2 separate regions of the Homo sapiens genome follow, and region 1 is linked to region 2. The links are contacts of gene promoters, found by promoter capture Hi-C in human tissues and cell types (Jung and others, 2019). All regions are on one chromosome and are shown on one strand. The core of a region is centred on a gene start or on the middle of the fragment in contact, and the rest is flanking DNA. Distances in the headings are between cores, read along the strand shown. Region 1 overlaps KCNIP4 (potassium voltage-gated channel interacting protein 4). Region 2 holds the start of KCNIP4 (potassium voltage-gated channel interacting protein 4).

Region 1 (6,230 bases), core at 1,355-3,854, 150 kb before region 2:
CTCCGAGTCAGAAACTTTGCAAGGCACTGTGCAAGATTTTTTGAGGACATCTTCTCAGAAAAATCAGGGAGGTTTTATGTCCATTTTACAGGAAACTAAGGTTCAGAGACTTTTAAATGTGTTCCCTCGGATGATTTAACTAGTGTGTGAGAGAGAACATATTCTAACACCAGTTTTCATAGCTTCATGTCCAAAGCACTTTTATCATTACATAAGCAATAGAAGGTATTTGACACGTAATCTTTTTAAATTTATGTTAAAATCGTCAAGGAATAAAAATAAAGCTCTAAAATAGATTGATAAATGTGCTGCAGTAGACAAGACCCCGTTGAATTTAAAAATCACTGGTCATGTAAAACCAGTGACCAACCTCTAGTTGCCAAAAGAGTGGCTTTGTTCCTGGCAAGAGAAAGAAGGGAAAGGGAGTTAGATTGGTGATTATAGAAATTGTGCCATGGATTTGGTATTAAAACAATACCAATTTGGGACACACAAGTCATGACATACATCACCAAGTTGTGGAGGCAGGCGGAGGCATTATTCCTCATATCTGCCCAGAACACTGCTTGGAAAATGGTGGTAAATGACACATGAAGAATTTTACTTATTTATTTTATTATTATTATTATTATTTTTTGAGATGGAGTCTCGCTCTGTCACCCCGGCTGGAGTGCAGTGGCACAATCTCAGCTCACTGCAACCTCCACCTCCCGGGTTCAAGCAATTCTCCTTTCTCAGCCTCCCAAGTAGCTGGGACTACCAGCGCGTGCCACCATGCCTGGCTAACTGAAGGATTTTTATTTTTTTATAGCTGCACAGCACCAGGATGTAGATACCAGGCTGAGAAGCAGTGGCCTCTTAGACAGTGCCATAATAAAACACCCTTCTTAAGAGCTATACAGAGAGAAGTCATCAAGAAAAAAAAATAGTAGGAAAGGGATAGAGAACACAAACAGAATTCAGGGAATTTTTTTTTTAAAAAAGAATAATTTTAGGTGGGGTGCATAGGGTAGGGCACAGAAGGGGCTAAGGTCCTGAAGTTCTTCATGGGAGAAAGAATGTTTAATGAGAATGGGAATTAATATTAATATTATTCTAATTTTTCTTAACCCCAGGCTACTGAGACTGAAGTGCAGACTGTTGCCTGTCTTACAAATCAAAACCACAGTATTTGACCACTATGCCAGGAATGTTAAAATCTGACTTTCTCCAACAACAAGTGAACATTTCAGTTTTTAGTGTTTTAATATTTAGTATGAATAGAGTTTTTCACTAGGATATTTAGTATTTGATAGACCTTACATGTCTTATCTCATTTACTAATCCTGAAAACCTTAGGCCTGTAGTAATATTATCCTCGCTTTACAAGGAACCAAAACTCATCGTCTCTCTGCCTCCCTTATGTTGCTTTGCAGTTTGGGGAGCATAGTTTTTGTTTTTGTTTTCCTAAATAAAGGTTTGTGCCTCTAAGGTAATCAGGATATGTATTTTTTATTTCCATATTGCAGATAAGAAAACAAAGGCCAAAAAATAATAAATTATTTAAAGAAATGTACATCATAATAGAAACAGATCTGGGGCTAACATCAGGTTTCCTGACTCCTGGACTGGCATTCTCTACATTGTACAACAATTACTCATTGTTGTTTATCTTCAGCTTCTAGCAACAGACATGGGAATTAATCACTCTCTGAACATGCTTTTGAAGGAAAATAATGGTTGAGTGGATGAATGGAAGGCTGACCTATTAATAAAAAAGCACAAAAATAAAGACACGGTTCCAATAACATCTAAAAAAGATATCATACATATCATCACATTTCCTAAACCACATTCTCTCTCAAAAATTGCACCCCAACTTTCATTCCCAGAAAACAGCCTTCCTATTCAACTGATAGAGTCAGCTTTAAAATTACTGATCCTGGAATTTTTTTAAAGGGGCTTTAAAATGGCCAATTATCACAACAGGATGGTATATTTCAAAATTTCCTTATATCAATTCCTGAACCAACCTTCCTGAAATTCTCCCAGTTCCATGTCTTCCCTAGTACTTCATTTTTGACACAAAGGTTAAAAGTAAAGGGATGAAGGCCTGCTCCAGAAGACAGACAAAGTGAATTTTAGTTCCAGTATATAGCAGGTTTTTGACGTTAGTAAAGGTAGTAAACGTGCCATGCATCAAGCCGGTAAATGTCACGACATCTCTTGAGTTGCCCAAGCCAGAACACCTCCCTCTATCTCCCACTTCCTTGATCCTAATCCATTATACAGTCTTATTTATTTTAGCTATAAAATATATCCAAGAAGAGTCTACAACTCTCCATTCTTACTTCCTCTGTTGTCACCCAAGCTTTTATCACTTCTCATCTAAACAACCCTCTGGGCCAGTCTTCCCACATCCAACGTGGATCCTCCCCAATATGTTCTTCACACAACATCCAAAAATCTTTGTACAATGCACTGTGATGTGATAACACCATTACCTTCCCTAAATGTTTCAATGGCTTTCTTTCAGCTCTTTGAAAAAAAGATCACAATTTTCAACATTCAGCCTCTAACACTGGACCTCACCTGCCCAACCCCCACCATTACCCTGCCCTCTATTGCTACTGGTCTTCTCTCAATGTCTCCAAAATGCTACCCTATCTGCTGTCTCAGGTCCTTTCCCTTTGCCCTTCCCACCTTTCCCCTTGTCTGTCCTTCTTACCTCTCAGTTCAATAGACACTTCCCCAGTGAAGCTTCCAGACCCCTGTTATACAAACAGGCAATTCCTGTCTCCAGAGCACTGATTTCATTGGCAATTTTCTACTAATTAGCAAATTATCTTACTTATGTCTGTCTCTCTGAACAGAATAAAAGCTCCATGAGAACTGAGACAAAGTCTCTTTATATCCATTTTACCTCCAAACATAAAGTACTTGATCTCCAGGCAAAGATCACGGGGAATAGATCAGCAGTCAAACAAAGCCAGGCTCATTGCAACAAGGGAGAAAGCAACCACGTGGAACCATGAAGGAAAGGTCTCAGTAGAGGTTATTAAGAGGGGCTTGGTACAAGATTTGGCTTTGTGTTAGAAGATTTTGTGGAAGATTCAGACAAATCTAATTTTCCTCTCAACTGGGGACTGTGAATTGGATTTTTCTGTTGAATGCTGAAAAGCAAGGCCAATTCTATGACTGGGTATCTTAGTAGTTTTCATTTAGAAGGCAAGAAGGACAATGCAAGGCTAAAATGATGGTAAAGAAACAGCAGTCATGTTAGCTGAGCACACATGGTCATTTTCATGGCTTGGGTTGTGTTCTTGTTTTGTTTGTGATCAGACATGATTATAGAGTGGTCTTGTTTTTGTCTCACTCCATCATGATCATACAGTGACCTTGTGTGATGTAGATATTCTGTGAAATTATATATTTGATGAACAAACACTGAATTAGCAGTTACAACCAAGCCAGCTCAGTTGACCACAGAAATTTCACTTTTTCTTTTTCCTCACTAATAAATAATCCTGTGACTTGGTTGTAGAAGTCATTCATCAAATAATTGATGAAAACCTGAATGAATAAATTTAGCCACTCTTAGCATCAGCTGCTTCATGTTTGGGGGATAACATTTCACCTGCTCAAATTAGACCAGAAAATGACTTTAAACCACTGCCACTTTAAAAACCTATAATTCTAAGATATTCAAAATTTACTTGAATATTCATATAACAGCCTATAGATATGTTATCATAAATATAAAAGGAAAACTAAGTTATAGAATTTTGTGACTTAATGAAAACTTTATTATCTCCCTCCACACAGGCACTTACATTCCTAAACATACAATTTCATTCTGTCACATTCCACTGCCATTCCACTCACTAACAAACAATATATTGAAACCTGAAATGTTAGAACGCTAAGAACAAATTTATACAAAGCTAAGAACAAATTTATAATGTTTACCTGACAACAGAGAAATGACTACAATTCAATGGAGAAGAAAAAGACCACAAATTAAAAATATTCCTTCACTGGTTTAAGAGGTAGAGATTAGGATCTCACTGTGAGAGTTCACTCTCATTGCAGAACAGAGGGCTGAGAAGGCAGAAGGACATACAGCCTTTTGAACATCCACATGTGGTAATGGTTGCACTACTCTAGAAATCTATACAGAATCACTGGATATTACATTTGCAATGGGTGGACTTCATGGTATGTAAATTATACCTCAATAAAGCTATTACCAAACAAAAGTTGGTGGAACTCCATCTAGATGTATTGATATGGTTGGGCTCTGTGTCTCCACCCAAATCTCATCTTGACTTGTACTCTCCATAATTCCCATGTGTTGAGGGAGGGACCTGGTGAGAGATAGTTGAATCATGGGGGCTGTTTCCCCCAGACTGCTCTGGTGCACTACCAGAGCACCACGAGATCTGATGGTTTTATAAGGGGTTTCTGCTTTCATTCTCTCTTGCCACCACCATGTAAGAAGTGCCTTTCATCCTCTGCCATGATTGTGAGGCCTCCCCAGCCGTGTGGAACTGTGAGTCCATTAAACATTTTTCTTCCCAGTCTCGGGTATATCTTTATCAGCAGCATGAAAATGGACTAATACCTGTATGTCCACCTAACAGGAACCCGAGGCTGTTTACCAAATATCCTGCAGTCTCACTCTTTAAAACACCTTCATCTGTAATATCTCTATACTCTCTGCCTCCATGAATTTTCCCCTCTATGGAAGATTTATCAAGCAAAATGGGAGTGGAAAATCTCACCCTTCCAGCTACACCCTTCCTGAGCCCTGGCCAGTAAGCAAGTTCATCTCACTTGAACACTTGAACCATCCAGACTGTGGACTTCATATCCAAAGGCCCTGTGCTTGGCAGGGCATGATACAGGTGTGGCACATATTAAGCAACTCAGTAACTCATAGTAGTGGTGTTAAGAATTAGGCATGATGAAATGAATGTGTCAAGAATGTAGGTTACAAATGGAGCTGCTTTTCCTTTAGGAATTTTCTGTTTAGATGGACACATCAATTGTATCCTGGTTTTCTTCTGACATATAAAATAGGAGACAAGTGACACTAATAAAACAGCATGGTAGTTAAGGGTTTTTTCTGCCTTTCATATGCTTAAATGTTACCAAAACATTATATACTCTGGACCTCTTCCAAACGAAGCTGCATTAGAGGCTTCAGGTCAATGTTTTTTAAGGTACAGTCCCACAAAAGTTAAGGTGGGACAATAAAATACATACATTGTGTCATGTAGCATCACAGGGTGTTATTCAGTACAATATAGCACCCCATATAGTATTTAGTTACTACTTGCCTGAAAAGAAGATCTATGTCTTTCCATCTTGCCGTTTACAATTCTGTATTTATTTGAATTATTTCAACAGTGACCTGTAGTTATTACATTAATGTTACTTGTGTACTCAGAAGTAAAAAAGTGTGAGAAAATTGTACTAAAAATTTGTCACCAAGGCCAGCAAAAATTACTTTTATATAGAAGAATCTTGTTACAACCTATGCAAAAGAGGGAGATGACTGATTAATATTTTAGTTATACTCTTTCAATAAATATGTAGACTACCTGTCACATTTCAGGCACTGTATTCAGCACTGAAATACAACTGTGCATAAATGCACACTATTAACTTCTCAAAGTTCATGACCTGTTGGGTTAGACATTAAACAAGTAATTATTTTTTTAAAAAAACAAATCAGAAGTTGAAAGGGAAAACATATGAGAAGTATCAAATATGCATGGCTAAAGTATTTTTCCATGAAGATGAATAGGAATCTATAGACATTAAAAGAGCAGTTCCCAACCTTTTCAGCACCAGGGATCGGTTTAGTGGAATACAGTTTTTCTACAGACAAGGAGGGTTGGATGGGATAGTTGTGGGATGATTCAAGCACATTATATTTATTGCACTTTATTTCTATTATTATTACATTATACTATACGATGAAACAATCATACCACTCACCATAATGTAGAATCAGTGGGAGCCCTGAGCTTGTTTTCCTGCAACTAGATGGTCCCACCTTGAGGTGATGAGAGACAGTGACAGATCATCAGGCATTAGATTCTCATAAGGAGCATGCAACCTAGAGCCCTTCACATGCACAGTTCACACTAGGGTTCATGTGTCTATGAGAATTTAATGCTGCCACTAATCTGACAGAAGGTGGTGCTCAGGAGGTAATGCAAGCAATGAGGAGCAGCTGTAAA
Region 2 (6,353 bases), core at 469-2,968:
TGAGACGACATTCCTGCCATCTGCTCCAGCCTTGAGTTCCCTGGGCTGCCGTGTGTGAATGTGTCTCTAATAGGACAGCGCTAGCCCTCTACCCTGTTTATTCTAAAGAACTGCAAAGACAGAGACCCTACGAACTCAACTCAACACCCCAAAACTACTCAGCCCTCTACATTAAACACGCCACTCAGGAAACATTTGATCTCTTAAAGATTGTAAGCATTTCTCACAAGAGATAATCTACTTATGCTTGGCTCGTAATGAGTGGGCATCTCCAGGCATAAGTGAAAACAGAACTAAACACAGTTACAAGTCAAATGTGGGGCTTTACAGGTGATGTTCATATTATTTTTTCCAGTCCAAAAGGATTAAGACTGTTCTCTTTAAAATTTCATATTCAAGTGAGACTAGTGTCCTCCCGGTTACGATGACCTTAACTATTGGAGTGAGGAAAAGAAAGGGAGGGTGTCCATTTCCATTTCTCATGGCCATAAATTCGAATGATTGACTCAAGTTGTTGAGGTGACTCCATTTCCCTGAGTACTAAAGAAGGCAGCAAGTGGAAACACCTCTTTGCTTGCAAGTTTACAGCCCTCGAGTCCAAGTTTTTCACCCTCTAAACCCAAACTATGCTATAGCCATATGTGACCCCTTAGCTTATGTAATCAGGGAGAGGTCCAGCCCTTTATCACTCTCATGTGCCCCAAAATCACTTCCATTCTCTTTCCGGCTCCTGTAAAATACTCTGTACACATCAAAACCACCTAATAACAAATCGATGCAACCCAAGACGCTTTGTGGAAGGGCATCGTCTCCTATTTCTCTATGGATCCCACCAAACAGCAAAACATTTCTCCCTGCTTTCGCAGAACGCACGTTTCTCTGAAAGCCAAGCTCCTAACACAGTGCCCGATACCTTAACAAGGCTGTACTGTATATAAATTATTTGCAAGTGTCACTGAGGACCATTTTCTCTGAACACACTAAACTGAAGCTAGCCATAAAACAAGCCATACGCTCCTGCTTTAGAATCTGACATGGGCAAGATGCCGCCAGTATATTACCAGGGGACAAAAATACAGTTGTAATGAAGAAACGTGTGGGGGCATGAAGGAAAAGTGGAAGGCGAGGATCAATACTATTTCAGCTCATTAATCCCCAGGTGTTAGGGGAAGGAAGCGTGCGGTCTGGAGTCATCTGGCAGATGCATAAACAACCTCGGAAATTTTCAGAGAAGGCAAAAGTACGCACAGGATCGCAGGGGACCCTGCCACCGGCGAGTTTCAAACACACTTCAAACATCTTTTCTTCCCCGACCTGGATCTTGCATGCACCCCCCTCTCCTTTGCACCCCATTCCTGCCGCTCCCACCTCCCCTTCCCAGTCCCGCCAGGTGACTGTGTCTCATGCAGCGAAGGCAACAAGCGTCCCCAGCCGAGGAAGGGAAGGGGCAGCCGTCTTGGCTCGCGAGGGAAGGAGGGCGGAAGCGGGCGCCCGCTCGCAAGCTTATTGCATCCTACCGCCTGTAGAGCTGGCCTCCTCCAGCTGAGCCGAAATGCTTTCCACCCTCCTCACATTCATGTCTAGGGACGCAGGGTGCAGAAGCGAGACTCGAGAGTCCACCGGCCAGGGGCGTCTGTCCACGGGTCTGCACGGGAGCGCACCGCCGCTCGGCCCGGGGGCGTCCGTGGCGCTGGGAGCGAGAGCTTCGGCGGCGGCTGCGGGCAGGGCGCGCGGAGCGGGCTGCAGGTGCGGGCGGAGGCCGGCGGGGGGCGCCGGGGGCGCTGCGCGGCCCTTGGCGGCGGGGGCGCGCGGGGTGGCGGGGGAGGCCGAGGCGCCGGCAGCTTCGCGCCGGCGGCTGGAAGCGGGCGGGCTGCACGGGCGGCTCGAGTGCGGGGACCCCAGCCCCTCGCCCTCGTGAGCGCCGCCCCTGCCACCTGCTGCCAAGTCACCGGACTGGGGATGCGGGGGGCGGGGTGCGGGGAGAGGAAAGCGCCGCGGGTGGCACGGTGCCTCTGGCGACAGAGTAGATGGACCCGAAAGAGACCCGAGGTGACTTCGGGCTGGGCAGGACACCCCCGGGAGTTGCCAGCGGCTCTCAGCGGGCGCCTCTAGGACCCCTTGTCACTGCGAGCAGCGCCTGCTCTGGGGAGGGGCTCGAAGGCGCCGCGCCTTCTCAACGCGCCGCTGCGTCCCCCAGGGGCTCCAACTTGGACAGCTAGACTGGAAATACTGCTGCACAAAGTTAGGCTGAGTTCGAAGGACACCAGAGAGGAAGCGCAAGGAGATGCCCTTCTCCGGAGCCGGGCAGAGCGCCAGAACTCCTAGACGGGAAACTTTCCCCCATTGAAGCTAGAACCGGTCATGCGACTCGGCTAAGTGTGGGGAAACACTGGCTCTAGACTCCAGGTGAACATCGCAGGGCCGAGGTGCAGAATACCACCTTGGAGAGAGGGGGTGGCATAGACTGGTGGCATTTTGGAGAAGCATCCATGTGGGGGGTTTCATTTGAGATCTCCCAGGCAGGTCAACCAGGAGGTATCGCTCACCACCCGCAAGGTCATTTGCCCTTCTAAAGCACAGTAAGGCCGGGAATAGTTGGGAAGGTAAAGAGAAACCAATAGACCACTTGTGGCCATGGTTACTGTTTGAGAAGTCAAAATTAAAATGCAGATTTCTGTGTCCCCAAGAGTCAAGTGCATGAAGCCTCTCTTTTCAGAAGAAAGGTCAAGTTGACCCGTTCTCCAGGCAAACTGAATTAAAATTCCCTCTCACTCTCAGCTGCAAGGTCAGTTGGCCATGACTTGGGTGGAAGCCATTTCTAAGTGTTTGTGAAACTATTTGCCTTCCCTATGGCTGCTGGATTATTTATACACACTGTCACCAAGTGAAATCTTCCCCCTTTCTCCAAGTAGGTCTCAATTGACACCTTATTGCCCTTCTCCCCACCCCCAAACGCACGAGCGATTTACTTAGTCCTTTGAGCCCTTGTAGCATGTATTTGTATATTTCTTGAGAGCCTTTTACTCTTTTAGTTCATTGTTAAGGAGACAGATGCTGACACCCCATTGTCTGGGTTCAAATCCTAGTTCCACTACTTCATAATCCTGTGGCCTGGTACAAATATCAGCTATAACTGGTACCTACATTATTGTTTTGTTGTGAGGATTTAAGAAAATCAATAGATGCAAAGGGCTTAGAGCCGTGACTGGCATGTAGCAATCACTGTATAAAGACAGGCAACCCTGATTCTTGAAGTTGAGAACAATGTTATATTGACAAAGCAATTAGAAAAGTTCCTTGCACATAGTTGGTCTTCACTAAACATTTGTTTTTTCATTATTCAGCAAACATCTAGTAACTACTGTGTACAAGACACAATTATAGGCACTGGGATACCACAGTGAATACAACAAAGACCCTCAGTTATTGGCTGACTATCTAGAAGGCAGAGAGACTGACAATAAATCAAGGAATCAGAAGTGATCTGCTAGGGAGATCACTTTTATATAGGGGGTCCATAAGGGCTTTATGAAAGAGGCAACATTTAATTGGAATCCTGATGAAAGCGAGGAGCTAGCCATGGGCATCTCAAGGGAAAAAGAACTTCCAAGCAGAGAGAAGAGCAAGAGCTAACATAAGAATAGCATGTTTGCAGGGCAGCCAGGAGGTTGACAGGGCTGAAGTACATTGAGAGAAGGAAAGGGTAACAGGAGAGAGAGTCAGAGAGGATGGGATCATGTGCAGTGTAAATGTTTATTGAATTTTGTCTGCATACTTTTACAGCCAATGCATTCTTCCCACTTGCCAGCTTCCTCATAACAAGTCTTCTCGCTGCCCATTCTATCAGATTCAATCATTCGATTCTGTCGCGTGCCACCTTCTCCCTCTTCTGCAGACTTCTCCTAGCAAACTTCCAACTTACTGACCAACTACTTCTTTCTCTTTTTCTGTAGCTAACACTCTTTCCAGAAACCACCCACAACTTTGAATCACTAATACTTGTCCAACTCCAAATTTTGTCTTCTATATGATGACTTCTAAAGCTACCTGAGCATGCTGGTTTGGATTCTGCAGCCTGGGTTGGAATTCCAGTTCCAACTGTGAACAAGCTGTATGTTTGAGGACTAATAACCTCCCTCAGTTTTCTCACTCTAAAATGAAGAAAATAATAGTGTCAGCCGGGCAAGGTGGCTCATGCCTGTAATCCCAGCACTTTGGGAGGCCGAGGTGAGCGGATCACCTGAGGTCAGGAGTTCGAGACCAGCCTGGCCAACATGGTGAAACCCCAACTCTACTAATAATACAAAAATTAGCCAGGTGTGGTGATGCATGCCTGTAATCCCAGCTACTCAAGAGGCTGAGGCAGGAGAATCACTTGAACCTGGGAGGCGGAGGTTGCAGTAAGCCGAGATCATGCCATTGCACTCCAGCCTGGGTAACAGAGCAAGACTCTGTCTCAAAAAAAAAAAGTAAAGAAAAGAATAGTGTCTACTTAACTATTGGGAAAGATTATATGAGGCAGCATATGTAAAGTGTTTAGGATGGCCCCTGGCACATAGAGTCAGTAAGAGCTGCCATCGTAATAGTTATCACCATTATCATCATCATATTTTGTCATGGTGAACTCAAAGAAGAAATGGCACCACTATATTCTACAACAGGTCTAAGCAACCTTCCCTCACAGTGTGGGAAGTAATACACAACCCCTTTCTCATCTCCAAAATATGCAGAACATTTTGTTGGACCAAACTATCTTTCAAATCTTATCCAAAGAATATCTGCCCATGGTGGCCCTACTAAACGTTTACCCCTTAACTAATTATAAAGAAGGCAACAAAATCGTGTAAAGTAGACACTGTGCTGAAGAAGTTTGTAATATATTAACATATAAATATTGTATTATATAATATAATCAATATATAATATTAATATATTAATATATTTCCAAAATATTTGTATGGGAGTTTAGCTACTACAAATCCCAAGTCCAGACCTTTTTACTCGGATTCTTAGTCATTGCCAAACATCACAGAATAATTATCTTTTTACTGCCACATTTACCGCCATTTTTGATATTTGGGACCGAAAGTCCAGGATTTCTCTGTCTTGCTTGTACCATCTCCTTATTGGCTCTTTAAGTACTTCAACTAGTTAAAGAGAAGAGCTTCATAGGCCACAGCATGCTGTGCCAGCTTCTTATTACTCCTCCGAGGCTGTAGCAACCCTAGCCCGTCTTCCCAACCTCAAGACACATGCACAAAGATTGCCACCTTCTCTGACTAACCCTAGATTACTTTCTGTATAGCACGGATGTGTATTTTTCCCTCAAGGAACCATATTCAAAATTGAGTGCAGAAATAGGAAACTCACCATGTGCCAGCCATGAATCTCAGACTTTATGAACATTATTTCATTTAATCTTTACAAAGCACTGGGAGATAAGCACTGTTATTATCTCTACTTAACTAGTGAAGAAATTAAGCCTCAGAGAAGGGAACTGGTTTGCCAGTTTTATAATAGTAATCAGTATATCTGGGCTTTGAACCCAACCGTCTGACTCAAGAGCCCCCATATTTAATTACTACAGTGTACTGTCACCCTGCACTAGAATTTCGATGCTCTAGACTCTGACATTTCCTAGTTCTGTGTCCTCCGGAAAGTCACTGATCATGTCTAAGCTTCAGTTCCTCTTCTGTAAAAAGGGGAATTTCTGCTTCACAAGGTCATTGTCAGGATCAAGTCAGGGAATGAAAGTGAAAGCTATATATAAACCATGGAATGTTGTAGAAGCATCCAGGATTACTTTTATTATTTCCTGATTTTTTATTGCTTATTACCTTTACTGCTTTGTCTTCTCTGAAAGCCCCTTACATTTTGGCACAATTCTCCCTGGCTCACCAGAACTCAGGCAGTAACAGTAAAACTTCTATTATTTCATAATTGCTGAGCACTTACACTATGCACCTATGCACTGTGTTAAAAACTCTATGTCATTGTATGAATTAATTCTAAGAAAAATCATCATATATACTTATTCTTACCCTGATTTTAAAATGAGACTGAGACTCAGAGAGGTTAAGTAGCCCAAGGACAGCCAGCTGTGAAGAGGTGCAGCTGCGATTTGAACTCACGTTCATCTGATTAAAACACTAGAGCTTTCAATTGCTTCTTGATTGTTCTTAAACTTTAACATGCATAAGAATCATCTAAACAGATTAAAAACTCCTCTGCTCCAGCCTGTGGATGGATTCACTGAGTTTGGTGGGGAGATCTTAGAATGTAATTTATTTTGTAATTAATAGACTTTTAGAGCACTTTTTGGTTTTTTTTAAACAAATTTATTAAAGTATAAA

What was found. The method cuts DNA at HindIII sites, captures the fragments that hold promoters and counts their contacts. A contact is called where the count stands out against the background at its distance.
Region 1: a contact is called between a fragment that was not itself captured here and the fragment with the promoter of KCNIP4 in region 2, in 1 of the 25 tissues and cell types used here (H1 embryonic stem cells).

Annotation. Positions count from the first base shown.
Region 1 is chr4:21,800,990-21,807,219 of GRCh38, forward strand. All of the region lies in intron 1 of KCNIP4 (potassium voltage-gated channel interacting protein 4), which reads right to left. Among named protein-coding and RNA genes, the nearest start is that of KCNIP4-IT1, 49 kb to the right of the region's middle. The HindIII fragment of the contact is 3,771 bases long and covers 720-4,490 here.
Region 2 is chr4:21,947,054-21,953,406 of GRCh38, forward strand. KCNIP4 (potassium voltage-gated channel interacting protein 4) reads right to left here and starts at 1,719. Exons shown (of 9, transcript NM_025221.6): 1 at 1,518-1,719. The coding sequence starts at 1,578. RefSeq lists enhancers at 1,666-2,166, 2,167-2,667. The HindIII fragment of the contact is 8,414 bases long and covers 1-6,353 here.